7 separate regions of the Homo sapiens genome follow, and regions 1, 3, 4, 5, 6 and 7 are each linked to region 2. Evidence: promoter capture Hi-C in 16 types of primary human blood cells and fetal thymus (Javierre and others, 2016). All regions are on one chromosome and are shown on one strand. Each heading gives the region's core, a stretch centred on a gene start or on the middle of the fragment in contact. The rest is flanking DNA. Distances are from core to core; before and after follow the strand shown.

Evidence for each region. Contacts are between HindIII fragments. The CHiCAGO score rates a contact against its expected background, and 5 or more counts as called.
Region 1: a contact is called between a fragment that was not itself captured here and the fragment with the promoter of ACTR8 in region 2, in 1 of 17 cell types (non-activated CD4 T cells). The highest score is 11.6, in non-activated CD4 T cells.
Region 3: a fragment that was not itself captured here is called in contact with the fragment with the promoter of ACTR8 in region 2 in 3 of 17 cell types (naive B cells, total CD4 T cells and activated CD4 T cells); the score reaches 8.2 in naive B cells.
Region 4: a contact is called between a fragment that was not itself captured here and the fragment with the promoter of ACTR8 in region 2, in 1 of 17 cell types (naive CD8 T cells). The highest score is 12.6, in naive CD8 T cells.
Region 5: a fragment that was not itself captured here is called in contact with the fragment with the promoter of ACTR8 in region 2 in 1 of 17 cell types (non-activated CD4 T cells); the score reaches 6.7 in non-activated CD4 T cells.
Region 6: a fragment that was not itself captured here is called in contact with the fragment with the promoter of ACTR8 in region 2 in 1 of 17 cell types (total B cells); the score reaches 6.9 in total B cells.
Region 7: the fragment with the promoter of MSL2 here is called in contact with the fragment with the promoter of ACTR8 in region 2 in 1 of 17 cell types (total B cells); the score reaches 6.9 in total B cells.

What each region holds. Positions count from the first base shown.
Region 1 is chr3:179,604,566-179,608,756 of GRCh38, reverse strand. It overlaps NDUFB5 (NADH:ubiquinone oxidoreductase subunit B5), which reads right to left and starts at 3,963. Exons shown (of 6, transcript NM_002492.4): 1 at 3,818-3,963. The coding sequence starts at 3,941. MRPL47 (mitochondrial ribosomal protein L47) reads left to right here and starts at 4,119. Exons shown (of 7, transcript NM_020409.3): 1 at 4,119-4,191. The coding sequence starts at 4,133. RefSeq lists enhancers at 3,378-3,467, 3,498-3,657, 3,096-3,962, 3,838-4,037, 3,963-4,191. The HindIII fragment of the contact is 2,024 bases long and covers 1,495-3,518 here.
Region 2 is chr3:53,879,919-53,883,746 of GRCh38, reverse strand. ACTR8 (actin related protein 8) reads left to right here and starts at 1,595. Exons shown (of 13, transcript NM_022899.5): 1 at 1,595-1,768; 2 at 3,638-3,808. The coding sequence starts at 1,646. RefSeq lists silencers at 1,379-1,468, 1,859-1,968 and an enhancer at 1,629-1,708. The HindIII fragment of the contact is 9,111 bases long and covers 1-2,252 here.
Region 3 is chr3:11,848,880-11,852,698 of GRCh38, reverse strand. No RefSeq gene overlaps it. Among named protein-coding and RNA genes, the nearest start is that of TAMM41, 3.9 kb to the right of the region's middle. The HindIII fragment of the contact is 1,052 bases long and covers 1,152-2,203 here.
Region 4 is chr3:125,594,409-125,598,603 of GRCh38, reverse strand. OSBPL11 (oxysterol binding protein like 11) reads left to right here and starts at 3,107. Exons shown (of 13, transcript NM_022776.5): 1 at 3,107-3,967. The coding sequence starts at 3,804. RefSeq lists a silencer at 2,990-3,399 and an enhancer at 3,500-3,559. The HindIII fragment of the contact is 2,026 bases long and covers 367-2,392 here.
Region 5 is chr3:11,265,809-11,270,066 of GRCh38, reverse strand. No RefSeq gene overlaps it. Among named protein-coding and RNA genes, the nearest start is that of ATG7, 4.5 kb to the left of the region's middle. The HindIII fragment of the contact is 5,434 bases long and covers 1-4,258 here.
Region 6 is chr3:14,641,325-14,645,400 of GRCh38, reverse strand. It overlaps LOC124909347 (a long non-coding RNA gene), which reads left to right. Exons shown (of 2, transcript XR_007095826.1): 2 at 1-427. Among named protein-coding and RNA genes, the nearest start is that of CCDC174, 8.4 kb to the left of the region's middle. The HindIII fragment of the contact is 9,073 bases long and covers 1-4,076 here.
Region 7 is chr3:136,194,952-136,198,756 of GRCh38, reverse strand. It overlaps MSL2 (MSL complex subunit 2), which reads left to right and starts at 2,422. Exons shown (of 2, transcript NM_018133.4): 1 at 2,422-3,785. The coding sequence starts at 3,644. RefSeq lists enhancers at 1,875-2,174, 2,345-2,394, 1,972-2,718, 3,345-3,414, 2,719-3,465 and 2 more and a silencer at 2,615-3,004. The HindIII fragment of the contact is 2,546 bases long and covers 1,342-3,805 here.

The DNA.
Region 1 (4,191 bases), core at 1,257-3,756, about 130 Mb before region 2:
AGATAAGGGTAATCACCCCAGCACCTGGATCCATTTAAATTAAGTAAATTTACTAAGGCTCCAGAGGAAGGTCCTCAGGACTCAGACCTTAATTATAGATTTTAAAAAGTTAGTCACTTTTGTCTTTAGATAAGTGCACACTTACATGTAGACATATAGCTTAAAAGGTCTACAAGCTCTGGAAAACTGTAATTTTAAGTTGGTCTGGCGATAATTTCCAGGACTTCTCCCTGTAACCAGTTACAGGAATAAAAACTCTCTTCTGGCAGGGCGCGGTGGCTCATGTCTATAATCCCAGCACTTTGGGAGGCCAAGGCGGGCGGATCACCTGAGGCCGGGAGTTCAAGACCAGCCTGGCCAACATGGTGAAAACCCATCTCTACTAAAAATACAAAAAATTAGCCGGGCATGGAGGTGTGCACCTGTAATCCCAGCTACTCAGGAGGCTGAGGCAGGAGAATCGCCTGAACCCAGGAGGCAGAGATGGCTGTGTGAGCCAAGATCGCGCCACTGCACTCCAGCCTGGGCAACAGAGTGAGACTCTGTTTCAAAAAAAAACAAAACAAAACAAAAAAAAAACTCTCTTCCTCCCCAGTTCATCTGCATCTCATTATTGGATGGCAAGAAATAGCAGCCTGACCTTCAGTTTGATATGAGAACACGGGAAGCCAGGGGTTGCAGTGAGTCAAGATGGTGCCACTGCACTCTAGCCTGGAAGACAGAGCAAGACTCTGTCTCAAAAACAAAACAAACAAACAAACAAACAAAACCTAGATGCAACCCAATTGACAGATGATGGATAAGCAAAATGGGGTAAATACATACAATGGACAACGGACAATTCAGCTTTAAAAAGGAAGGAAATTCTGACATATGCTACGACATAAATATGCCTTGGGGATATTATGCTAAGTGACAGACAAATATTATATGATTCTACTTACATGAGAAATAGAGTAGTCAAAATCATAAAGACAGCAGAATGGTGGTTACCAGGGGCTACGTGGAAGGGGAATGGAGAGTTATTGTTTAACGGATACAGAGTTTTAGTTTTACCATATGAAAAAAGTTCTGGAGTTGGATGATGGTGATGGTTGCATAGCATTAGGAATGTATTTAATACCACTGAACGGTGCACTTAAAAATGGTTAAAATAGTAAATGTTATGTGTACTTTACCACAATTTTTTTAAAGGCTACTGCTGCCAGGCACTGTTGATTTTTTCCACTCACTCTTCACAACTACCTTTTGAGGCAGGTTAAAATTCTCATCTTTTTTAAAGAGGAGGAAATGCAGGTTATGAGCAATTAGGTGTCTTCCACTTTAGCTTCCAAGATGTGATGATCACAGACATGGCTTCTGAATTCTAGAGCCAGAATTTGAAGATAGGCAGTCTATCTCCAGAAAAAACAAAACAAGACAGGCTCTCTACTACATTAGAGCTTACATTCTTGTAGGGACAGATATAAACAACCATGTAAGAGATTAAAAGCTTTCATATCACAGTGACAGATGCAAAATACCTTTGAAAGCAGGTACACAGCTGAAAACACAGTAACCTTTAGTAAACATAGCTATTAGAACCTTCCCTGCTCTGATTGGAAAGGGCGCAGAACACGGTAATGATCCTTTGAGAACCCCAAGAAAGGGCAATAATGTGGAAAGAGAAACTGGGGGTGAAATTTTGCTGCAGTTTATCTCCAGCTGGATTTGATTGAATACTACCAGAGCGAGTATTTGAAGGATTTGTATTTGGCTATATGAGAATATCTGTAATCAGAAATGGCTTATAAAGGGATTTTCATCAAGGAATGTAGTTTTGTAACAAGTTCAAATTCCTGCTGGAAATTTGTTAAATACCACTGGTTCTTTGCATCATGTTTCCAGCAAATCCCTATGTATATTGCCTCATCCTGTGGAGTGGCATAATTCAAATTAAACTGGGAGAATAGGGGTAAAAAGAGAACAAGATATTTTGAGGCTGGAGACAACTTTCTGACTTTAAGTGTTTCACTTCCTCTTTACCTGCTTCTATTGCACAGGGCAAATAGCTTACAGTATATATCTAATGAAGAGGATTAAATAAATTAATACTTTAAACCCTTAAAATGATGCTTGAGGTCAGGTGGGGTGGCTCACGCCTGTGATCTCAGCACTCTGGGAGGCCAAGGCAGGTGGATCACGAGGTCAGGAGTTCGAGACCAGCCTAGCCAACATGATGAAACCCCATCTCTACTAAAAACACATAAAATTAGCCGGGCATGGAGGCGTGCAACTGTAATCCCAGCTACTCAAGAGGCTGAGGCAGGAGAATCGCCTGAACGCAGGAGGCAGAGGTTGCAGTGACCCAAGATCACGCCATTGCACTCCAGCCTGGGCAACAGAGCAAGACTCCGTCTTGAAAAAAATAAAAATAAAAAAGGATGCTTGACACGTAACAGGTGCTCAGTAAATGTTGGCTATTATTTAGTGACACATTATTTAATAATTGAGTCAGTTTCCTCATCTGTAAAATGAAAATAACATTGTAATTTCTTTGCAGAGTCTCTGAGATAATAAAGTACACTGAATATCAAGCATTTGATCTTTGCTATGATTATTCACACCGCCATGATGCAACTCACTGTCTCCAAGGAGGTCCAAATAGCCCTATTAAGACTGTATTGGTCAGGTGCAGTGGCTTACGCCTATAATCCCAGCACTTTGGGAGGCTGAGGTGGGCGGATCATTTGAGGTGAGGAGTTCGAGACCAGCCTGGCCAACATGGTGAAACCCCATCTCTACTAAATATACAAAAATTAGCCAGGCGTGGTGGTGTGCACCTGTAGCCTCAGCTACTGGGGAGGCTGAGGCGGGAGAATCGCTTGAACCCGGGGGGTGGAGATTGCAGTGAGCCAAGATGGTGCCACTGCACTCCAGCCTGGGTGACAGAGTGAGACTGTCTCAAAAGAAAAAAAAAAAAAGACTGTATTATGACTTTCCTGAGACCTAGGCACTTTTGCCTTCAAGGGCCCCTTCGTCTAAGTTATTAAAAATAATATTTTATGACTGCATTGGTATAAAACGAACATAATACAGGCTGGATTCGTTATCATATTCATAAACATTATGGTTTTTTTAAAAAAGAAATTTAAATTAAAAGACTTTCGTAGACCCCTAAAACTATCATGGGTTCAGGCAGGAGAATCGCTTGAACCCAGGAGGCGGAGGTTGCAGTGAGCCAAGATCGCGCCACTGCACTCCAGCCTGGGCAACAGAGTGAGACTCTGTCTCAAAAAACAAACAAACAAAACAAAACAAAACAAAAACCTCTCTTCCTCCCCAGTTCATCTGCATCTCATTATTGGGCGGCACGGTACTTACTGTGCCTAAAGAATAAGTTGGCCCTGAGCCTCTTTACCTGTCTACATATTACCTGTCTTCATATTCCTTAGCATAGGTGGGCTTCTCGGCAAGATGACTTTGCATCTGTGGGACTAGAACCTAGCCTTTGGGCAGGTGGAACGCAACAATAAGCTTGTGCCCTAGAGATACAGATCTCAGCTCTATACCTTTCTAGACTCAGCTTCATCCGCAAATTAGCATTAATTGGGATGGTGAATAACAACGTTTTAGAAATGCTAATAATGTAAACACGATCTATCTGGCTACTTCAGGAAAACCCCTCATATAGCTCGTGCTCCGTCTCTCCTGTCAAGCCCCAAGCCCACAACTTGTCCCGGCTCCCTCCGGATCCCACCAAGGTCACCCTGGAAGCGTCCTCCCTTTTCTCGCCCCGCACCCGCTTCACGCCCGTTCTCCCTAGGCCAGCACCCACCAGCAGCCTTCGGAAAGCCACGAGTGAGGAAGCCCCCAAATCCGAGGCGAGTGCCAAGGGGCCGGCCAGACAGAGCTGCCACCGCAGTAACCGAAACCCGCCGCAACAAACTCATGGCCGCCATGGCTACTACGGGCAGGAGGAAGAAGGGAGGCGGGTCACGGAAGCTGAGAGAGCCAATTTACCAATGAGGACAAAGGCAGGATGTGGCCATCTTAAGTGAGGGCAAGTTTTCTATTCTCCTCACCGCCGGCTTGAGACGCCGGAAGTGACGCTATCGTTGGCGGAAACGCGTTTTGCCAGTTATGCGAAAACATGGCTGCGGCCGGTTTGGCCCTTCTTTGTAGGAGAGTTTCATCCGCCCTGAAATCTTC
Region 2 (3,828 bases), core at 346-2,845:
ACCATGGTCCTCTTCTGCCTCCTAGCACTGCTGCTGCAGGACTTGTTCCTCGGGTCTTATCCCAGAGTTCTGGCTGCATTTGACATTCAGGTATTCTTCTTTGCACTTCAGATAGAATGTAAAACACAGGTTCTTGAGTACTTTATGCTTAACTCTTGTCTTTGCTACTCAATAGCTTATGATCTTGAGTGAATTATGCCATTTTATCCCACTTCACTCACCTGTAAAACGGGGATTAAATTTTTACCTCCAAGAGTTCTTTATTTAGTATTTAGTCATCACATGCTTATTGGGCACCTACCATGTGCTGAAGATAACTGGCAAAGTCTCACGGAGCTTACATTCTAGTGTGGGAGACAGTGAGCAGGCATGATAATTACAGACTAATGCTTCATGCTTCAAAGGGAATAGGATGATGAGAGAATAACTGCGGAAGGCCTGAGGTGACATTTGAGTTCAGACGTGAGAATGAGACAGCTGAGGGAAGAGCATCCAAGGCAAAATGAACAGCAAGTGCAACAGCCCGATGACGGGAAGGGCTTGGCATGTCTGAGAAAGATAAAACAGGTGTAGCTGGAAATGCCAAGGAATGGGGAGAGTGTTGTGAGGTGAACTTAGAAATGTAGCAATAACTAGATATGGTCTTTAGGTGGTGGTTAGTTTAGATTCTGTTCTTTGAGCAAAGGGAAACCATTAGAGTTTAAAGCATGAGTGACATCTAATTTTTGAGGTAAGTCTTAGTGGAGTGCTGGGTACATAGTAGTATTAACTACGTAATATTTTAAAACAACGTGGGCAACTATATAAGAACAGATCATAGGGGGACAGGACAAGGAGTTCGAGTTAAGAGGCTGTTGTAGTCATCCAGGTGAGATGATAGTGGCTTGGGCTAGGTAGTGGCATGGGAATGGAGAAGTGGATGAATTCAAGATCTATTTTAGAGACTGCAGGATTTACTGATGGATTGGATGTAGAAGCTGTCAACAAGTGAAGAATCAAAATGACATTTACTGAGATGGTGAAAGTGAGAGGGGAGGGAATCAAGAGTTAAATTTTGGACATATTTAAGTTTGCAGTGCCTTGTAGACAATCCAGATGGAGAGACCAAGTAGGCACTGGTTATCAGTACGGATCTCTCTGAGCGGTTCATCCTGGATATATATATTTGGGAATCGTATTCATTGCTAAAGCCAGGAAACTGGATAGTCACCCAAGGAGTGTGCCTGGAAAAGACCTAACCCCAACATCAGAGGCTGGACTGAACATGAAGACATATGAGAAAAACTAAGAGTACATATGGTATCTGGGAAGCCAGGAGAAGAGATGCCTGTGAGGACGAAATAAGATGCGGGTTATCAGCCGACCCCCACTAGGCGCTCGAAAAGCTATGTGTACTATGTTGCTGGCATCTACACAGTCAGGACTAATCACAGCAACACCCACCCAATCAATCCGCATGCACACCCCGCCCCCAGCCCCTGCGCCGGGCAGCCCCACCCCCGCCTTTTCGGAGCCCTCTGGGGCGACTCCGCGGCGGCCATCTTGACTGTGGGCAGCCGGCCGTGCGCCTGCGCGGTGGCCCTTCCATCCCGGCAGTCGTGGCTGCAGCGCTGAGGCGAGAGGTTGGTGGGTGTCTCCGGCCATAATGACCCAGGCTGAGAAGGGTGATACGGAGAACGGAAAGGAGAAGGGCGGCGAGAAGGAGAAGGAGCAGCGCGGCGTGAAGCGGCCCATCGTGCCCGCGCTGGTGCCGGAGTCGCTGCAAGAGGTGCGGCTCTGGCTGGGTTGGAACTCTTTGCCCTTGCTTGGGTCCTCCGCTGCCAGGCAAGGGGCGGGAGGCGGCGGGAGGCTTCGAGTCCCCCTTGCAGGCCCCAGCCCCTGGTGGGGGGAGTGCGGAAGCGGTCGTTCTTTTCCGGGTGGTGGCGCGCCGGGACGCCGAGGGCTGGGAGGTGCGGAGCGCCAGGAGCCAGGCGGAGCCCCCGCAGGGACACCGCTCCGATCTCCCGCACGCCCCACCGTCTGGTTGTGTGCGCTCCTGCCCGGGCTCTGGCCTCAGCTTCCCCGACCATAAAACGACCACGGTGATAACCAGCCGCCTCGCAAGTTGCCGTGAGGGTTAAATGGTGGCAGATAGAGTTTAGGACCAGGCTGGCTCACTGGGAGCGTCAGCCTGTGCTTGTTAAGGGATAGTTTGGGGTCCAGGCTTTTTCCTTTGTTAAGGAAATCTCAGATAATGGAAGTCATTTCAAGCTTAAAAGCAAGGAAATGGTGGACATTTGTCTAAATATATATTAAGAGCTTGTGTATCAAAAACAACACTATTAGACCAAACTAAACTAACCAGAAAAAATTATTTGCAGTAGCGTGCCTGGCAGAGGACCTTAGATGTATACACATACACAAAACCTTACTGATCAGTAACTAAAACAGCATTCACGTAGGAAAACGGGCACAGGCAGTGTACAATTCACAGAAGAAATGAGGCATAAACTGCTCAGAAATTCATGTAGGACATCTCTGATCCAGCTTCCTTACCGGTAGATGGGTTAAGGATAATACCTAACTAGTAGGGCAGCTACTAGTTAGTTATCACTAGTATGACAGTGCCTGGCACACCGTAAGCCCAGAGTGGCCATTACTGTTGCACAGGCCTGGTTTCTCCATCTGTCTAGTTGAGAAGGCTGACTGGATGGTCTGTAAGGGCCTTGCCAGATCCTTCCCTCTAGGATTCTCCCACTCTGTGGGGGGTGATTAGGAGGAGAGAGGTCACACTTGGAGATAGGACAACAGGTATCAGAGCATGGCATGGAATGGGCTTGTGCAGAGGGCAGTATTGGGCACTCAAGCAAGTACCTCCTCCATCCCCGACAGTCAGGGAGGGTTTCTTCAAAGGAGGTGAGGTGACATCTGTTTAGAGTCCTGAAGGTGATTAGGAGCTAACCAGAGGGAGGAGGGAATCTCAGGGAAGAAGAACAGTGTGGAAGACACTTGTGCCAACAGAGGATGTGAAGTGTTGGAGGCCCAGCCAGTAGATTAGGATGTCTGGAGTTAAGGAAGGGGACTGAAGATCTTAGCAGGGGCCATATCATGAGGGTCGTGTAAGCCACAGAGTCTGACCTCTTGTGAAGGCAGTGGATCACGTTGAAAGGCTTTACTATAGTAAGAGCCAACATTCCTCGAATGCTTCCTGTGGCCCAGCTCTGAGTTACATGTATAACTCATTTAATTCTCACAGTAACTGTGAGTTAGGAGCTTCATTCAGAGCAAGGAAGTGGCAGTCTGAATTTGCAGACAGATCCGTGAATTCAGAGCCTGGGCCCGGATTCTATAGCAACATTTCTTCAGTCACATAAATGCTCAATAACTGTATGTTAATTTGTAGTGGACAATTTTTGTTTCATTTATTTAAACAAATATTTGTTGAGCTATGTACTATAACTCAGGTCAAGGGAACATAATAAACAATGAGTTTGTGTTTAGGTAGAGAGCGGTAATTGGATACTTCTCAAAGAACTTTATTGAATTATTTTGATACCTTTGAGTCAGCTTCTTAGTTTAGCTTGTTATGTGTATGTTGTTTAACTTTGTTACCTGCATATTATTTACAAAGTCACACATCTATGTTTTATATCTGCAGCAAATCCAGAGCAACTTCATCATTGTCATACATCCAGGTTCAACAACTTTAAGGATTGGTCGAGCCACAGACACTCTTCCTGCCAGCATTCCTCACGTCATTGCCCGAAGACACAAACAACAAGGGCAGCCCCTATACAAGGACAGTTGGCTCCTAAGGGAGGGACTAAATGTAAGTCAAAAACGACCTGG
Region 3 (3,819 bases), core at 428-2,927, about 42 Mb after region 2:
TACATGTCAGAGATTGATCTAACCAGCTTAGTTGTCATGACAACTCTGGGAGGTAGACGCTCTTATTATCCCCATTTTATACTTGTGGAAACTGAGACACAGAGCCAACTTGCACCAGGTCACACAGATCATCAGTGGCTGAGAATTGAAACCAAGCAGTCTCAATCCAGATTCCACATTCTGCCTCTCAGATGAGATACCTGCTCTGTTCTTTGGAATTCCACCATTATTTATTCATTTCTTTGGTACTGTAAAAGTCCATGGTCTTCCTGAACTCCACTGGAAAACTCAGTGTCCCCCTAGAAGGAGGATTCTAAGACCCAGTATGGAGGCAATTCTTTCTTCTTAGAATTTTTTCACGGTGTACTCTCTGGTGAACTGCTGGTCATCTTCCAAGGTCTAATCCAAATGTCATCCCTCTAAGAAGCTTTCCCAGAAACCCTGAAGAAAAAGTAACCCCTGCTGTCTTACCATTGCGGTGGTATAGATCTGGTTTATACTCTCCATAGTGTATTTTTTTTTGCATGCATGTGAATTTTTTGCCACCAGACTATAACATTTGCAAATGCAGAAATTTTGTTTCAGGCACTGTACTAGGCACTAAAGGACAGAAAGATTAATAAGATATGGTTCCTGACCTCAAAGGGCCCCTAAGCCTTTTATAATTGTACTTGATGGACATATCTGATATTTAAGACAAGAGCTAGAGAGCTAAAAGCAAAGGGTTAGGAAGGCACAGAGAACAGAACACTTTGATAGCTGAGCTGGGACTAAAGGATGAGGAAGGTTTCAATGGGAGAATGAATCAATGAATGAATGGGTCCCTTGGTGAAATGAACACCCCGTGTTATTTTTCTCGTGCAAGAGGAAAGGGATTGGACTTGGAGGCTGTATTAGCAGCTGCCATTAGCCCTGTGACTTCAGGCACATCAATTCTTTTTTCTAAGCTTCAGTTTATCCATCTGTAAAACTGAAATAGTAGCTACTAATTTCCCAGGATTTGTTTTAAGAGCTAAATAAAATCATGTCTGCAAAGTGCTTTGTGTAAAATGCTAAACGCCATAAAGATGTAGGTATAATTATGCTTCTTAATTCCTTTTGTACATTGTCTCTTAAGAATTCAGGAGGATGTCCTCCGTTTATTGAAAGCTTACTCCAGGCACTATTCTATGTACTTTCTAGATACTGTTTCATTTGCTGTCACAACAACCCTGTGAGTGAGGTGTCATTACTCTCCCCAGGCTGCAGATGAGGAAAGGAAAGCACAGAGAGGCTAAGTCTTCTTGTCCAAGGTCACACAGCTATTAAATCCTGGGGCCTGGATTCCAACCCAGGTGGTACCTTCAAGCCCCTGATCAGACACTAAAGATGTATTAAGATGCTCTCAGTTGGCTGGGCATAGTGGCTCACGCCTGTAATTCCAGCACTTTGGGAGGCCTAGGTGGGTGGATTGTTCGAGCTCAAGGGTTCAAGACCAGCCTGGACAACATGGTGAAACCCCATTCTCTACAAAAATACAAAAATTAGCCTGGTGTGGTAGTACATGCCTGTAATCCCAGCTACTCAGGAGGCTGAGGTGGGAGGATCACTCGAGCCTGGGAGGCAGAGGTTACAGTGAGCCGAGATCGTGCCACTGCACTCCAGCCTGGGTGACAGAGTGAAACCCTGTCTCAAAAAAAAAAAAAAAAAAAAAAGAAAAGAAAAGAAAAAAAGAAAAGAAAAGAAAGAAAAGAAAAGAAAAAACGAAAAAATGCTCCCAGTCTGTCCCAGTTCTAACCATCAATCAGCCGAGAATGGACAAATGGGACAGGGTGACCCACCTCTGACAAGATGGAGATCAAGACCCCTCTCCTTCCCCTCCATCAGCAGACCAATTGAACATGTGGCTAATTGTAAGAACCACTGAGCCTGGATTTTTATTCTTCCCCAAACATTTTTCTCTCCTGTACTTAAACACTGATTAGAAAAAAAAAAAAAAAGCATTAAAGCCATAGATGTTTTTTTACAGGGCTTTAAAAAAAATGGATTACATGGATTCGATGAACCTTCTCCTAGTGAAAGCCTGACAAGGTCATTATTAAGGAATACAAAGACAACTGCTAGATAAATCAGAAGAATGAGGCCCAATATTCACTCGAGTCACCAGGCATTTATCTATATTTGTAAGTGGCTCTCTAACATGTTTATTTCATTGGTATAAGCTTTCCAACAGAACCCTAAAGCGATTATATAGAACACTGGGTCTTCCTAATAGCCTCTAATTTCACAAGCCATGGTAATTTAAAAGAGAGTGGGTGGATGAAGGGCCAGGAGCAGGGAGATTTCTGCTGAAGAATACAAATGTGTTCGTGGCTACGTTGCTTCTGCCTCTTTCTGGGGAAAGGCAAAATGCACACAGGAATGTGATGGAACCTTCCAGCTGGTGGTTTTGCATTGCAGGAAGAAAAGTGTTTGTGAACATGAAAATTGCTGATAATTGGGTGTGAACGCCTGTAAGGGAGACAAATGGAGAAACATTGCAGCATCTTTATTTCTATCAAGGGCTGAACTCTGCTGGTGGGTGTGTGAATTGGCACCATCTTTTGGAGGGGAATTTAGCAGCGTGCTGACACTCTGACCCAGCAATTCCCCTTCTAGGAATCTGTCTTATAGCAATACTTGTTCATGCACATAAAATGTACAAGGATGCTCATGATAGCATTGTTTGCAGGTGTGAAAACTAGAAATAACCTACATCCATCAACAATAAAATGTTTAAACAGGCCAGGATGCCTGTAACCCCAGCACTTTGGGAGGCCGAGGCGGGTGGATCACTTGAGGTCAGGAGTTCGAGACCAGCCTGGCCAACATAGTGAAACCCCTGTCTCTACGAAAAATACAAAACTTAGCCAGATGTGGTGGCGGGCACCTGTAATCCCAGCTACTCAGGAGGCTGAGGCAGGAGAATCACTTCAACCCGGATGGTGGAGGTTGCAGGGAGCCTAGATTGTGCCACTGCACTCCAGCCTGGGTGACAGAGCAAGACTCGCTCTCAAAAAAAAAAAAAAAAAAAGAAAGAAACAAAAGAAAAGAAGAAAGAAAGAAAGAGAAAGAAAATGTTTAAACACTTTCTTTTAAACAAAAAATTTTAAACAAAATTATGGCATATCCATATCTTAGAATAATTTGCTACTAATACATGGAATGAGGGAAATCTATATATTCTGACACAGAACATTGTCCCTGATACGCTAAGTGCAAAAAAAGCAAATTGCAAAATAGTATCTATCCTAGGAATCCACTTAAAATTGTTTTTAATGTTAATATATTCATAGAAAAATATTGGAAGGAATATGTGCCAAAGATTACCGTGGCTATTTCTGGGGCATGATGTATGTATTTCATAATGTTTACATTTTTATGAACATGGATTACTTTTGCAAACAGGAAAAATCCAATGACGTTGAATTATTTCCCCAAGGGAAGGAAGGAAATAAAAAAGGAACCGGCTGGTAATGAGATTTATTCACTGTCTTTGGGTGAGAGGCTTCAGTGTAATTCCACGGTGAGTGCACTCTGATTCCGGCACCCTGGGCAAGGGCGATATGTAGTAAAAATGAACGGAAGTGACCATGCCCACACCAGGGGCCGCAGACAAACGGCCTCTCTCCGCTCCCTTGCCCTGGTCTCCTGCTTGTTGCTGCGGCTACTGCTGCTGCTCCTGACTCTTGGCTGATGCCTGAGTGCCTGCTTTCTTCCCATTTCCTTCTCTCACCCTGCAAGCCGCTGTAGAGGACACTTAAACATGGTGGTAAAGACCTTGGCCTTTAGAGGTAGGTA
Region 4 (4,195 bases), core at 130-2,629, about 72 Mb before region 2:
TCCATGCAGCTAGAGAATTTGTTTTTTAAAAAATAGCATTATCACAATATAATTCATCCACCATAAATTCACCCATTTAAAGTATACAATCGAGTTTTCATATACTTACAAGATTGTACAACCATCACTATTATCGAATTTTAGAACATTTTTATTACCCCCACCCCCAGAAAACCCCATACTCATTAGCAGTCATTTCCCATTCCTCCTTTCTCCTATCCCTAGCAACCACTCATCTACTTTCTATCTCGATGGATTTGCCTATTCTGGACATTTCACATAAATGGAAGCATACAGTATGTGACATTTTTGCGTCTTGCATCTTTCACTTAGAATCATGTTTTTTATATTTTTATCCCACAAGCTTTTTTCCACTTTTATATTTATGTATTTATTTAAAGAGACAGGTCTTCTATGTTGCCCAGGCTACCCTCAAACTCCTGGGCATAAGTGATTCCCCCCATCTCAGCTTCCCAAGTAGCTGGGACTACAGGTGTGCATGACCACACCTGGCTTTCCATTATTTGTCTTTGTTTTTTTTTTTTTTTTGAGATGGAGTCTCACTCTGTCACCCAGGCTGGAGTGGTACGATCTCAGCTTACTGCAACCTCCGCCTCCCAGGTTCAAGCAATTCTCCCGCCTCAGCCTCCAGAGTAGCTGGGATTACAGGTGTGCGCCACCATGCCCAGCTAATTTTTGTATTTTTAATAGAGATGGGGTTTCGCCCTGTTGGCCAGGCTGGTCTCGAACTCCTGACCTCAGGTGATCCACCAGCCTCAGCTGCCCAAAGTGCTGGGATTACAGGCGTGAACCACCGTGCCTGGCCTACATACCACAAATTCTTTACCCATTCATCTGTTCATGGACACAGGCTGGTTCCATATTTATGCTATTGTGATAGTCCTTCAGTAAACATGTGAGAGCAGGTATCCTTTTGATATGTTGATTTCTTTCCCTTTAGATAGATACTCAGTAGTGGGATTGCTGGGTTGTACGGTAGGTTTATTTATTTACTTTTTTTTTTTTGAGACAGAGTCTTGCTCTGTTGCCTGGGCTGGACTGCAGTGGCATAATCTCGGCTCACTGCAAGCTCCGCCTCCCAGGTTCATGCCATTCTCCTGCCTCAGCCTCCCGAGTAACTGGGACCACAGGCGCCCGCCACCACACCCGGCTAATTTTTTGTATTTTTAGTAGAGATGGGGTTTCACCGTGTTAGCCAGGATGGTCTCGATCTCCTAACCTCGTGATCTGCCCACCTCAGCCTCCCCAAGTGCTGGGATTACAGGAGTGAGCCACCATGCCCGGCCGGTTTTTGTTTTTTTCTTTCTTTCGTTGAGACTGAGTCTTGCTCTTGTTGTCCAGGCTGGAGTGCAGTGGCGCAATCTCAGCTTTTAGTAGGATGAGCCGCAGACAAAACCTCTCAGACACCGAGTTGTAGAAGGAAGGGCTTTATCCAGCTGGGAGCATCAGCAAGCTACTGCCTCAAAATCTGAGCTCCCCAAGTGCACAATTTCTGTCCCTTTTAAGGGCTCACGACACTAAAGATTTCACATGAAAGGGTCATGATTGATTTGAGCAAACAAGCGGTACATGACAGGGGCTGCATGTACCGGTGGTCAGAGAGAAACAGAACAGGGCAGGGAGTTTCACAATGTTCTGCTGCACAATGTCTGGAATCCATGAATAACATCGGTTTCTAAGTTATGAGTTGATTTTTAACTACTGAGTTTAGGCCAGGCAGGCCCAGGCCTGGTTTCCGGCCTGGCGCTGGGCTGCCTGTCTTTGGTTTTACTTCCTTGCTGTTTCTTTTTTTCTTAAAACAGGTACTGAGTATAAAACAATATGAGAGGGTCTCTCTCCTTCCTCAGGCTCACTGCAACGTCCGCCTCCCAGGCTCAAGTGATTCTTCTGTCTCAGCCTCTTAAGTAGCTGGGATTACGGGCACGCACCACCATGCCCGGTTAATTTTTGTATTTTTAGTTGAGAATGGGTTTCACCATGTTGGCCAGGCTGGTCTCGAACTCCTGACCTCAAGTGATCCGCCCACCTCGGCCTCCCAAAGTGCTGGGATTACAGGCGTGAGCCACTGTGCCCAGCCTCAAGTCATGTTATTATAAACTAAAATTAGCAATTAGGAGAGACTTTAGAAATCTACCCATGCACTCTTGTTTTACAAATCCAAAACCAAGGCCTAAACAAGGTGAAAGATTTGTCTGGGGTCTGGAAGAGTACCTAGCTCTGTTCTGAGATCTCTAATTTCCATGACAGCTTCTTTTTAATTTATAATAATGATTGGCTTTACTCCAATGTCATGCTTGCCCCCCCCCCACCCCAAGTAACTAAAACGTACAGATGTTTGCTTCGTTCTTGTACTTTCTTATTTTTGTAAGCTTTCTTCCTAAAATGCCTGGAACGGCCCCTCAAATGGAAGGCTAGGACGTGGTTAGGAAGGCGGGCACTCGGCCGGGCGCGGTGGCTCACGCCTGTAATCCCAGCACTTTGGGAGGCCGAGGCGGGCGGATCACGAGGTCAGGAGATCGAGACCATCCCGGCTAAAACGGTGAAACCCCGTCTCTACTAAAAATACAAAAAACTAGCCGGGCGTAGTGGCGGGTGCCTGTAGTCCCAGCTACTTGGGAGGCTGAGGCAGGAGAATGGCGTGAATCCGGGAGGCGGAGCTTGCAGTGAGCCGAGATCGCGCCACTGCACTCCAGCCTGGGCGACAGAGCGAGACTCCGTCTCAAAAAAAAAAAAAAAAAAAAGGAAGGCGGGCACTCACACACCAGAAGGGAACTCTCTAGTGCTGCTGGCTCCTTTGTTTCTTCCTCCTTCACTGTCCGGGTTCCTCGTTCCGTTGCGGCGCCCTCCCTCGCCCTCCCTCGCCCATCAGCCAGTCGCCCAGCTACCAGCTCCCAGAGCCTCCGCCTCCTTCAGGGACCCGCCGCCCTGACCCAAGATGGCGCCAGACGCTTCGGCTGTGAGGGAAGTGAGCTCACGCTACTCCGGAAGGGAAGGCGGGAAGGGAGCAGGGGGCGGGGGGTGGCTGACCCGCTGTGGGGCTGTGGGGCTGTGGGGCTGTGGGTGGGGCGGCGGCCGCGGCCCTGGCATTCGCGCTTGGGTCTGGAGATAGCGCGAGAGACTCACCGGCTCCTGGGAACCCAGTCGAGGGCCCGGGCCAGGGGCATAAGAGGAAGTTGTCCCGAGTGGCTCGCCTCTGGCCCTGGGAGAGGCGGCCCCGGGAGCCGGCGTCCCGCCCCCGGCGGCCTCATTCCCCGACCCTCCTCCCCGGCTGCGCGCGCCGGCCCTGGCTGTATCTCGGGGGCTGCGGCGGGAACTGCCGAGCGGGCTTGACTGGACGCACTGCCTGAGGACCTGCGGAGGAGACGAGGGAGCGCGGCGGGTCAGCCCCGAGGTTAGGCCGCGGGTCCCCTGTCCGTGGCGCTCCGTCCTTTTCCCAGCCGTCTTGGCTACAGAATCTGCGACCTCCCCACACTCCTTCTCTTTTGAGTATGTCACTTAAGTCTTCTCGCCGGATGCTTTTTCCTCCTTGCTTTTGCCGGAAAGGAGAGAGATACATGTGAAGGATATCTGTCCTCGTTGCTTCCCCTGCCCTCTCAAAAGTTTAACTTCTGTGGGAATGTGTATCTTCCTTTTCTGGACCATTTGACAGTCCCGCCCCAGCCGCCGTGTGATTTAGCAACCGGTATCATATTCAGATCAAATCTTAAAAAAAAAAAGTCACCTACAGAACTACAGAATTGTTCTCTCCCGCTCAAGAAGGGCAAGTGGACTTTGGCGTTAAGATGCAGGGGGGTGAACCAGTGTCCACAATGAAAGTCTCGGAGAGCGAAGGAAAGCTGGAGGGCCAGGCCACAGCGGTGACCCCGAACAAGAACAGCAGCTGTGGAGGTGGAATCAGTAGCAGCAGCAGCAGCCGCGGTGGCAGTGCAAAAGGCTGGCAGTACAGGTATGCTCCTTTCTCCAAAATTATTTCCCGAGGTGGAGGTAGGGGTGAATATGCCCTGGAGGCTGCATCCCGCAATTGTTGAAAGATAAAAGTTTTTTCACTGGCTTCCAGAAGCTACTGATACATCTCGTTTGGATCTGGGACCTCGCCTAAAAGATTTAATCCATTCATTTGTTCATTCAACAGGTATTTATGGAAGGCCTTTTGAGGAACACAGAAATGTATCCC
Region 5 (4,258 bases), core at 1,114-3,613, about 43 Mb after region 2:
GCCTCCTGAGTAGCTGGGACTACAGGTGCATGCCATCATGCCGGGCTAATTTTCTCATTTTTTGTAGAGACTGGGTCTTGCTATGTTGCCAGGGCTGGTCTTGAACTACTGGACTCAAGTGATCCTCCCACCTTCACCTCACAAAGTGCTGGGAATACAAGTGTGAGCCACCTTGCCCAGCAAGGATTTCTTTTTCCTTTTTTTTTTTTTTTTTGAGACGGAGTCTCGCTCTGTCACCCAGGCTGGAGTGCAGTGGCACAATCTTGGCTCACTGCAAGCTCCGCCTCCCAGGTCCATGACATTCTCCTGCCTCAGCCTCCCAAGTAGCTGGGACTATAGGCGCCCACCACCTCGCCCGGCTAATTTTTTGTATTTTTAGTAGAGACAGGGTTTCACCATGTTAGCCAGGATGGACTCGATCTCCTGACCTCATGATCCACCCGCCTCAGCCTCCCAAAGTGCTGAGATTACAGGTGTGAGCCACCACGCCCAGCCTTTTTTTTTTATTTATTTATTTTTTTGAGATGGAGTTTCACTCTTGTTGCCCAAGCTGGAGTGCAATGGCGCAATCTTGGCTCACTGCAACCTCCACCGCCCGGGTTCAAGCGATTCTTCTGCCTCAGCCTCCCAAGTAGCTGGGATTACAGGTGCATGCCACCACACCCGGCTAATTTTTTGTATTTTTAGTAGAAACGGAGTTTTACCATGTTAGCCCGCCTGATCTCAAACTCCTGACCTCAGGTGATCTGCTCACCTCGGCTTCCCAAAGCGCTGCGATTACAGGCGTGAGCCACTGCACCTGGCCAAGAAGGATTTCTTAACCTTTACTGTCAGAGGCATTTGAACCAGAATGACTCCATCTTGAATAGGGGCTGAGTAAAGTAAGGCTGAGACCTATTGGGCTGCATTCCCAGGAGGTTGGGCATTCTTACTCACAGGATAAAACTGGAGATCAGGGTATGACAGAGGTCACAAAGACCTTGCTGATAAAGGTTGTGCTAAAGAAACGTGCCAAAACCCACCAAAACCAAAATGGTGACGAGAGTGACCTCTGGTCATCCTCATTGCTTATTATACGCTAATTATAATGCATTAGCATGCTAAAAGACACTCCCACCATTGCCATGACCTTTTACAGATGCCAAGGCAATGTCAGAAAGTTGCCTTATGCAGTCTGAAAAGGGGAGGAACCCTCAGTCCCAGGAATTGCCCACCCCTTTCCCAGAAAACTCATGAATAATCCACCCCTTGTTTAGCATATAATCAAGAAGTAACTATTAGCATAATCAATTGAGCAGCCCATGCCACCACACACTGCCTATGGAGTAGCCATTCTTTTACTCCCTTTTTTTCTTTTTTCTTTTTTTTTTTTTTTGAGATGGAGTCTCACTCTGTTGCCCAGGCTGGAATGCAATGGCGCATCTCTGCTCACTGCAACCTCTGCCTCCTGGTTTCAAGCAATTCTCCTGCCTCAGCCTTCCTAGAATATGGTGAGCAATTCTCCTGCCTCAGCCTCCCTAGAAGCTGGGATTACAAGAACACACCACCATGCCTGGCTAATTTTTGTATTTTTTTTTTAATACAAATGGGGTTTCTTTCTTTTTTTTTTTTTTTTCCAAGACAGAGTCTTGCTCTGTCACTGGGCTGGAGTGCAGTGGCGTGATCTCGGCTCACTGCAACCTCCGCCTCTTGGGTTCAAGCGATTCCCCTGCCTCAGCCTCCCGAGTAGCTGGGACTACAGGCACAAGCCACCAAGCCCAGTTACTTTTTTATATTTTAGTAGAGACAGGGTTTCACTATGTTGGCCAGGCTGATCTTGAACTCCTGACATCTGGTGGCCCGCCCGCCTCGGCCTCCCAAAGTGCTGGGGTTCCAGGCGTGAGCCACCACACCCAGCCTCCTTTGCTTTCTTAATAAACCTTCTTTCTCTTTATGGACTGTCCCAGAATTCTTTCTTGTGTGAGGTCCAAGAAGTCTCTCTTGGGGTCTGGATCAGGACCCCTTTTCTTTTCTTTTTTTTTTCTTTTGTGTGTGTGTGTGTGTGTGTGTGTGTGTGTGTGAGAGAGAGAGAGAGAGAGAGAGAGAGAGACAGAGTCTCACTCTGTCACCCAGGCTGGAGTGCAGTAGCGCGATCTCGGCTTACTGCAACCTCCATCTCCTGGGTTCAAGTGATTCTCGTGCCTGAGCCTGCCAAGTAGCTGGGATTACAGGCATGCGCCACCACACCCAGCTAATTTTTGTATTTTTAGTAGAGACGGGTTTTCACTGTGTTGGCCAGGCTAGTCTCGAACTCCTGACCTCAAGTGATCTGCCCATCTCAGCCTCCCAAAGTGCTGGGATTACAGATGTGAGCCACTGCACCCAGCCAGGACCCCTTTCCAGTAACATTACTGTTTTCCAAGAGCAAAAAGTCCAAGTAAAATTCAACACTGCCAACTCTTGACTATATCAGGTTCCTCTCCTGCCGTTGCCCTCTCAAACTGCATGCTTGAGTCACACTAAACTAATTCTGGTCAAGCACACACTGCTCTTTTATATCTCCATCCCTGCAATGCTCTCACACTTGCTGTGCTTGTGTAAGCCTTTCTCAGTCTTCACAACCCATTTGAAGTGTGGGGGAATCTTAGACAAAATGTTGATGGAAAAAAGGAGTACATATTAAATAATTCTACTGATAGAAAGTTCTAAAATCAGCAAAACTAATCGCTATAGTTGTTACCGGAAAGAGGTCCCGATCCAGACCCAAGAGAGGGTTCTTGGATCTCTCACAAGAAAGAATTCTGGGCAAGTCCGTAGAGTAAAATGAGAGCAAGTTTATTAAGAAAGAAAAGGAATAGGGCTGGGTGCAGTGGCTCACGCCTGTAATCCCAGCACTTTGAGAGGCCAAGGCGGGCAGGCCACCTGAGATCAGGAGTTCAGGATCAGCCTGGCCAACATGGTGAGACCCCGTCTATACAAAAACATAAAAAATTAACCGGGCATGGTGGCTTACACCTGTAGTCTCAGCTACTCGGGAGGCTGAGGCAGGAGAATTGCTTGAACCCAGGAGGCAGAGGTTGCAGTGAGCCAAGATTGCACCACTGCACTTCAGCCTGGGTGACAGAACAAGACGCCGTCTCAAAAAAAAAAAGGAATAAAAAATAATAACTACTACATAGGCAGAGCAATGTTATGGGCTATTTGACTGAATATACCTATACTTGTTTTTTTTTTTTTTTTTTTGAGACAGAGTCTCACTCTGTCACCGAGGCTGGAGTGCAGTGGTGTGATCTTGGCTCACTGCAACCTCTGCCTCCTGAGTTCAAGCGATTCTCATGCCTCAACCATCCTGGTACCTGGAATTACAGATGCACACCACCACAACTGGTTAATTTTTGTATTTTTAGTACAGATGGGTTTTCTCCATGTTGCCCAGGCTGGTCTTGAACTCCTGGCCTCAAGTGATCTGCCTGCCTCCACCTCCCAAAATGCTGGGGTTACAGGTGTGAGCCACCCTACCTGGCCAGTTATTTCTTGATTGTATGCTAAAAAAGGGTGGATATTTCGTGGAACTGAGGGTTCCTCCCCACTTTTTTTTTTTTTTTTTTTTTGAGATGGAGTCTTGCTCCTGTCGCGCAGGCTGGAGTGCAGCGACGTGATCTCGGCTCACTGCAACCTCCACCTCTGGAGCTGAAGCGATCCTCCTTCCTTAGCCTTCCAAGTAGCTGGGATTACAGGCATGCGCCACCACACCCAGCTAATGTTTGTATTTTTAGTAGAGATAGGGTTTCGCCATGTTGGCCAGGCTGGTTTTGAACTCCTGACCTCAGGTGATCCACCTGCCTCAGCCTCTCAAAGTGCTAGGATTACAGGCGTGAGCCACCATGCTCGGCCCCCTTTTTAGACTATATAGGGTAACTCCCCAAAGTTGCTATGGCATTTGTAAACTGTCATGGCACTAGTGGGAGTTTTCTTTAGTATGCCAATGTATTATAATTAACGTATAATCAGCAGTGAGGATGACCAGAGGTCAGGTTTTTTTTTTTTTAATTTATTTAAAAAATAATTGAGACAGGGTCTCTCTACATTGCCCAGGCTTTCTCAAACTCCTGGGCTTACGGGACCCTCCCACCTCTGCATCCCAAAGTACTGGGATTACATGCGTGAGCCACCATGCCCAGCCAAGAAGTCACTTTCATCACTCCTTGGTTTTGGCCAGCTTCTTTACTGCATCCTGTTTTATCAGCAGGGTCTGTGTAACCTCTATCTTGTGCCGACC
Region 6 (4,076 bases), core at 619-3,118, about 39 Mb after region 2:
TCGTTTTAAACAATATAGATCAGGTATCTTATAGAATATGGCTCAGTGTGGATGTATGTGATATTTTTCTCAGAGTTTGCATGGGATCATGAGTTTTGGGGAGGAACACCGCAGAGGTGAAGTGGCATCTTCATCGCATCATATCAGGGGTATGTGCTGTTGAAATGACTTCACGGATAGTAACCTTGGTCACCTGGCTCGAGGTAGTGTCTGCCAGGTTTCTCCACTGTAAAGTCACTTTTCCCCACTTTCCTTATCTACTCTTTGGAAGCAAGTCACCTAGATCAGCCCACTCTCAAGAGGCACTGTAAATAGTTTTTAAAATTTTATTTTTAATTGACAAATAATTGTACATATTTATGGGGTACAAGTGATGTTTTGATAGATGTTGACAATGTGGAATGATTAAACTGGGCTAATTAACAAATCCATCACCTCACATACCTCTTTTTTGTGGTTAAATCATTTAAAATTTACTTTTAGCAATTTTGCAATATGCAATGCATTTCTATTTATTATAGTTACCGTACTGTGCAGTAGATCACTAATGCTTATTCCTCCTGTCCAACTGAGACTTTGTGCCCTTTGATCGACATCTCCTTTCCCCATCCACCCCTCTCCCACAGCCTCTGCTAACCGCCATCCCACCCTCCACTTCTGTGAGTTCAGCTTTCTTCGATTCCACAGTAAGTCAGATCATGCGGTGTTTGTCTTTCTGTACTTGGCTTACTTAACTCAGCATAATGTCCTCAAGGTTCATCCACATTGTCAAAAATGACAGATTCCCCCCACCTTTTAAGGCTGAATATTTTCCATTGCATACATATATGCACCACATTTTCTTTATCCACTCATCTATTGATAGACACTTAGGCTGGTTTCATATCTTAGCTGTTGTGAATAATGCTGCAATGAACAAGTGCCTACATCAAAAAAGAAGAAAGATTTATAACAAGTGCCTACATCAAAAAAAGAAGAAAGATCTCAAATAAGTAACTTAACGTTACAACTCAAGGAATTAGGAAAAGAACAAACTAAGCCCAAAATCAGGAGAAGGAAGGAAAGCATAAAGATCAGAGTGCTTTACATATTTTAACTCGTTTATGTTTCACTGCAGCCTAAGCTGCAGGTATGTTAACATGTCCACCTCACAGATGAGGGAATGGAGGCTCAGGGAGTTCCACTGGCCCACCTGCAGCGATGCGGGAGCGCCTAAGCTCGCAGTCCCCTGCCTCTCCCAGGAGACAGGGCTCTTGGACCTGTCTCCCCTGGTTCACCATCATCTCTGCATCCTCCCTGCTGTCTTTTTACCCTTCATACATGCAGAGATGGAAACAATCCAAGTTTCTGTGTGGCCCCAACAGTCTGATATGAGACTGTACTTGAAAGAAAGAGGTCCCTCAATCACATTCCTTTTTGTAGACACGTGGGTCTCAGCCTGGGGCCTGAGCTATTTGTTGCAAATGTCCTGATACCCACTTTAATTTCCTGCCTGGTCTAGACAGACACAGATAGAGACAGTGCTAGGAGGCACTCTTGGGGGGAGGGGTGTGTTTCTCCAAAGAAGGACCATAACAGCGGTGGCCGCCTCCCTCCTGGGTCCTGCAAGAGAGAGGCATCAGGGAGAACAGTCCTGGGGACAGTGACTTGAAGGATGGGAGCTAGGGTCGCAGTTTTAAAGGAGGAATGAGGGCTTGCCAGCCCCTGTGGTGCTGTGTCAAGAGAGGTAGATGCAGAAGCTGCCTGGGGAAACCGAGCTCTGTTCTCAAGCACACACCTTCTTCATCCTTCCATTCCAAGGAGCCTCCACCCAGGCACCCCAATGCCACCTTCCTCCCAAGAGTTCATCCCTAAAAACAACAGCATGCAGGGACTTGACTGTGCTTACACTTTTATTCATGCATTTGATAGTCAAGACACTTTCTAAGTGACTGTTCTCTACTGTGAATTGGGCCAAGTGCTCTCTTTACACTATCCCATTTAATCCTCACAGCAACCTGTGAGTATTCTTATTCCCATTCTGCAGATGAGGAGATGGAGGCCGGGAGAGTGAAGGGACTCACAGTTGGTACTGGAACAAGAAGTAAAATCCAGGGCTGTCTGACTGCAAAGATGGCTCTTTCTATCCATTATTTATCTGGTCCTCATGTTCCTCACACTCCAGAGGGAAGGCAGACACCACCCCTACCACACCCCCACAAGGAAGCAGGGCACATTACATCACGGTCATTGCTGTGAAAGGATCATGGCAATGTGGTGCGATAATAGAGAATCAAGAGGTGGGAATGAATCTAATACAGACTGTGACGAGTGAAGGTGTCTCAGAGGAGGTGATGTTTAAGCCATAACTGAATACCTGGAAGAACAGGGAGAAATGTGTTTAAGGATTTAACAGCACGTATGAAGTCCTTAGGTTGGAAAGAGGTCCAGAAGTGGGTGAGAAAGAGAAGTGGGATGTGAGGTAGGAGGGGTGGTGGGCAGGATCCAGGTCCTGTGGGGCTTTGTAGATCAAAGTAAGGGACTGGAAATTTATCCTGAGTGTGATAGAGGCCATTGGAAGGTTTTCAGAAGGACAATGACAACATCCGTCTCTCAAGGTGCCCACATTTTAGAGCAGGGATTCTAAAGTTCAGCACTACTGACATTTGGGGCTGAATAATTCTTAGTTGTGGGGGCTGTCCTGTGCATTGTAGGATATTCAGCCACATCCCTGGTCTCTCCCCACTAGATGCCAGTACTAGCTCCCCACCCTACTTCCAGTGGTGACAACCAAAAATATTTCCAGACATTGCCTCTTGGAGAACCACTGACTTAACATATCAAAGGTTTATTTGTTGCTCTCCTACACATGGTGACTACGTTTCTTAGTCTGTTTGTGCTGCCATAACAAAATACCACAGTCTGGATAATTTATAATGAACAGAAATTTATTTTAGCACAGTTCTGGAGGCTGGGAAGTCCAAGATCAAGGTGCTCGTGTCTGGTGAGGGCCTTCTTGCTGCACTATCACATGGTGGAAGAATATCTTGTCTGTACAGGGTTGAAGGTGGAAGGACAAAAGAGAGCAAGAAGGGGCTGAATTTGCCCTTTTATGACAGCATTAATCCCACTCTCATGGCTTAATCTCCTTTTAAAGGTCCCACCTCTTAATACTGTTACAATGGCAATTATACTTCAATATGTGTTTTGCAGGTCACCTTATTCAAACCACAGCACCCAGGTATTGGGACTTACTGCATCAGGTGGCTCCACCATCTCAGAGCCCTTTGCTTCCATATCATAGGCCAGGGAGATACCACAGAAGATGGCATGGGTTGTTTGATAGCCAGGTCTGGAAGCAATTGTGTACACTATTGCCATCCACATTCCACTGGCCAGAACTCAGTGTCATGGCCCCAGCCTGTCTGCAAGGCTCCTGGATCCAGGAGGAGCAGATGACTTGGGTGGCATAAAGACTTGCCTCTGCACAATGAACTAAGCATTTCCTGACATGCTCCACTGAATGCTCACAACACACAAGCAGGTGGTATTAAACCCATTCTTCCAAGACTGATCTGTAGAAGGGGTCAGTGGTCAGGGCAGGGACATGGGGTCCCAGGTGAAAGCACCCAGGACCAGGCTCCATGCAAAGCTCCCTGGGCCACAACATGAGGCTGACACATGCAGTAGATGGCTACGGTTTGTCTTGATAGCATCCCACCCTCCTTTGCTAGCAAGAACCCCCGATTTTTGTCTGGGGAGCTAGCCTCCCACCATTTGTCCAGCTGAGGTTCCCCACTCAGGTTTAGCACATGACCCAAGTCTGAGCCAGTAGGTGTGGTGCATTCCTCCAGGCACTGTGCCTGCTCGGCCAGAGCGCACATCTCAGGGTTGCTGCTGGGGATGAGGGGATAGAGACTTGTCTTTTCTCAGCTGGGCATGAGCCTGATGCTGCTGGTGGCCTGCCTGGGTATTTAATTTTTTTTTTTTTTGTAGAAACATGTCTCACTATCTTGCCCAGGCTGGTGTTGAACTCTTGGCATCAAGTGATCATCCTGCCTTGGCCTCCCAAAGTGCTGGGAATACAGGTGTGAGCC
Region 7 (3,805 bases), core at 1,173-3,672, about 82 Mb before region 2:
CGCCCTCTTGACCTCAGGTGATCTGCCTGCCTAGGCCTCCCAAAGTGTTGGGATTACAGGCATAAGCCACCGCACCTGGCCTATGTCTTCTTTTGAGAAGTGTCTGTTCATGTCCATTGCCCATTTTTTAATGGGGTTGTTTTTTGCTTGTTGATTTTTTTAAGTTCCTTATAGATTCTGAATGTTGGACCTTTGTTGGATGCATAATTTGCAGACATTTTCTCCTATTCTGTAGGTTGTCTGTTTACCCTGTTGATAGTTTCTTTGCTGAAGCACTTCATTTTCTGTAAACAATTCATTTGTTTCCCTTTTAGGCAAGGCTCAAGCAAGCCAATAAATATTAGAAGAGAATATACCTCAAGATTCTTTGCCTCTAAGTACAATACTCTTATTACCAGTTGCAACCAATTTCAGAAGCTAAAAAAGAACTGGCTTAACACACGTTTTCTCTCTCACGTCCATGCACACGAATGATCAACAGAATTAATCTTAATTTGGGGTGTACACATCTGAAGACATTTGTAAAAATCCAGTTATGAGAAAATTAGCAAGGTTAATGCCCTGCAAGTAATCACTTGCTTAGGGTGACTGCTAATTTATTGTCTTAACGGAAAACAGTGCTGATTATTTTACTCTGTGTTGCTCCTTTTGGGGAGAACCACCTCTGTGTTGTGGGAGAAGACCTTAGAGTCTGGAGTAAAAATAGAACCGTGTAACAATTTTATTTGAAGGAGAGCTTAGAAAAGATCTCTTATGCAAAAAAAAAAAAAAAAAGAGAGCTTTTAAAAATGAGAGTGGCTTTTAGAATATTTGTCATTTTCCACGTATAAGACAACCAAATACAGTTTGCACAGCTAATCAAAATTAGGAAGTTATATTCTTACTGCTTAATATTTAAGTGTTGATAATATGGTAGGTCTTGTGAAAAAAAAACCTGTCTTCAAATGGTAATAGAAATTATAAATCGAGATTATATGTGTTCCCTTGATATCTTAACTATTCCTACTCACCTCAAGTGGCAGCTTGTAACTAACACGTACCACATTTACATGTTCCATATACGTGCCTGTGTACATATGTAACATGTGCCACAATAGATTTACACGCATCATAATTTTCACTTTGCAAACGTATAGAGTACCTACTGTGCATGAAAAATTATGCTGAGGAGCTTTGGTGTGTACAGAGATAAGAAATGCTTCCTATGGCCTGTTACTATTTGTGCTACTCAAAAAAAGGTTTTGTACTTTGAGATGGGAGGGAAGTCATCTACTAAGTCAGGCTTTTGTTTATTTATATCCCAGTGCCCTTGATCTCCTGCAAAAACAAAAGGCAAAAGCTTGTTTTAAAAAACAAAACATTTGCAAGGATTTGGGTTTGTTCTAGAGCAAGATCACGCATTCTTCAAGACATCTGTTCACACAGAAGAGCTAGGTCTTTTAAAAAAGCTAGGTCTTTCAAAAAAAAAAAAAAGGAGTTCGTTTTGTTTTTAAAACAGGACTCTGTTCCGGTGAGAGCTCGGTGAAGTCCTGATCGGCACCCATGAAGGTGAGGCCGCACGAGTCCAAGGGCCAGAGGCCGTGGGAACAGCGCGGGTCCGACGGGTAGGAGGGGGCAGTGGGTTCGAGCCTCCACGCTTACATACAGCCTGCCAGGGCCTTAGAGCCCTCTGACTGCGAACCACCGCAGAGAGGTGCGGAACGCGGCCCCGACCCGGCAAAAGCCGTCCGCACGCCTGCTGGGCGCGCAGCCACGTTGACTACTGCAGCCTTCCCGGCTCGGCGAGAGCCTGCCAGCCAGCCGAGGCTGCGCCCTTTCCGCGGTCGGGATGAGCGGTTCCAGGAGAAAGGCCGCGAGGGCGGGGCTTGGGGCCTGGCGCGGCTATTTCCTCACACCGCGGTCAGTCAGGACGAGAGGCCGCGTTCAGGCCAGTGCAGAGCGCCACATGGCGCTACCAAGTCGGGCCCCGGCGTTGGCGGGCACAGAAGCAGTGTAATGCGGGAAGCCTGCAGCCCACACTGGGGAAGGATGTGCCAGCTAACGAATGTTTCACCACAGCCCACATGCCTGGGAGAGGGAATTTGAGAGCACGTGGGGGAGGGGCGAAGAGAGCTGTCGGCTCGCAGAGAGCATGCTCCATTCTGAGAGTCGAAGTGGAGAGCCAGGCATGCGCAGTGAGCCCAGGGTGGGTTGGCAGCGGTGAGGGACTGGCGCGAGCAGGCTGATGTGTTTATCCGGTTTTCTGGGTGGGCGGTCAAAGCGCACGCGGAAGGGCGAAAGGCGGCGGAGCTAGGTAGCAGCTTGCGCATGCGTGGAGTGAGCCGGTAGCTCTGGGAGGCTGTGGAGGGGGTTGTTAGAGGAGAAGCAAGGGAAAAGGGAAGCGAAGGGAGAGGAAAGGGGGGAGGGGTGAGAGTGTGCTCTGCGCATGCGTGCGAGCGCTAGCGACGACGGCGGCGGGGGAGTCTCGGGGATGACAGTGGCTTTGCCCGTTGGGGTAACGGTCGTCGTCGCCGCCAGCAGAGGCCTGAGGCGCCACACAGCCCGCGGGATCCATTAAGGCCGCAGCAGCCCGGGCCCTACCGAGCTGGAGTGGCGCGTGGAGTCGGGGTGAGGGCGGCGAGGCACGGGGGAGGGGCCTGCGGCGGGGCCTTGCTGTGTGCGCTGGGCGGCGGCGGGGCCTGGCGGTGTGAGCGCTTGCCTTCCGCGGCCGGGGAGTGCTGAGGGCGGCGGCGGCCGTCGTGCTCGGCGGAGGAGTCGTCTGTGTGTGTGGCGCCGAAAAAATGGCCGGGCAGTGAGGGGGCGGCGCTTGAGTCTGGTGACCCCGGAGTGTGCGACTGAGGCGCGAGGGGCGCCGCCGCGGCCCGGCCGGGCTTGCCCCCCGCCCCCTCCCGCCCGCCGGCGGCGGCCCGCGCACTTCCTCCCCGGCCTTCCCCTCCGGGTTGAGGACTCCCGCCCGCCTCGCCACCTCGGGGAACTGCGGGCTGCAACCCACGGGGCGGAGAGCCAGGGCGCAGTCTGGGCCCCGCGTCCGATATGGAGAGCGCGGCGGCGGCGTCCGCCAGCCGCAACATCAACCTTCGTCGCCGCCGCGGCGTCTTGCACTAGATCCGGGAAGCCGCTGCCCGACCGTCGTCCTTGCCGTCGCCGCCGCCTCCGCGCCCTGTACTGGGATGGAGTAAGAGGCCCTGCAGCCCGGGAGAAGCGTGCCGCGCCTCAGACGGGGCCGGGGCCTGCTCCCGCGCCTGCCAGCTCGACTTGAGGAGGCGCCTCCGTGTCCGGAGATGGAGCTCGAGTGCAGGCCGCCTGCCGAGCCGCGGGGCTAGACTGAGCTCCGAGTCCCGCCCCGAGCGCCCAAGCCGCCGCGTTCTGCGCTCTGTGGTCGCTCCGGACGAACTCGAACGCTGGTTTCTCTCTCATATTTTTGGTCTGGAAGTCTCAGGGACGGAGGGGCGCCAAGGCCCCATGTGTGGGAGGATTGTTTCAGCTCCACAAACTTGCACGGATTTTGGTTACTTGTTTGGCCAATGGTTCGGCTCTGATTTCTTCCGAATTGTTGCAAATTCGCCATCGTTCCCTGGCTGCTTACTAAGTTGGATCCGGAATTTCTTTTCAACCGGGAGCCATTGGTGTCGAAGTGTCTGCAATGAACCCCGTGAATGCTACTGCTCTCTACATTTCCGCGAGCCGCCTAGTGCTCAACTACGACCCCGGAGACCCCAAGGCGTTTACTGAGATTAACAGGCTCTTGCCTTACTTCCGACAGTCCCTTTCGTGCTGTGTTTGCGGTGAGACGCTTTTTATTGTT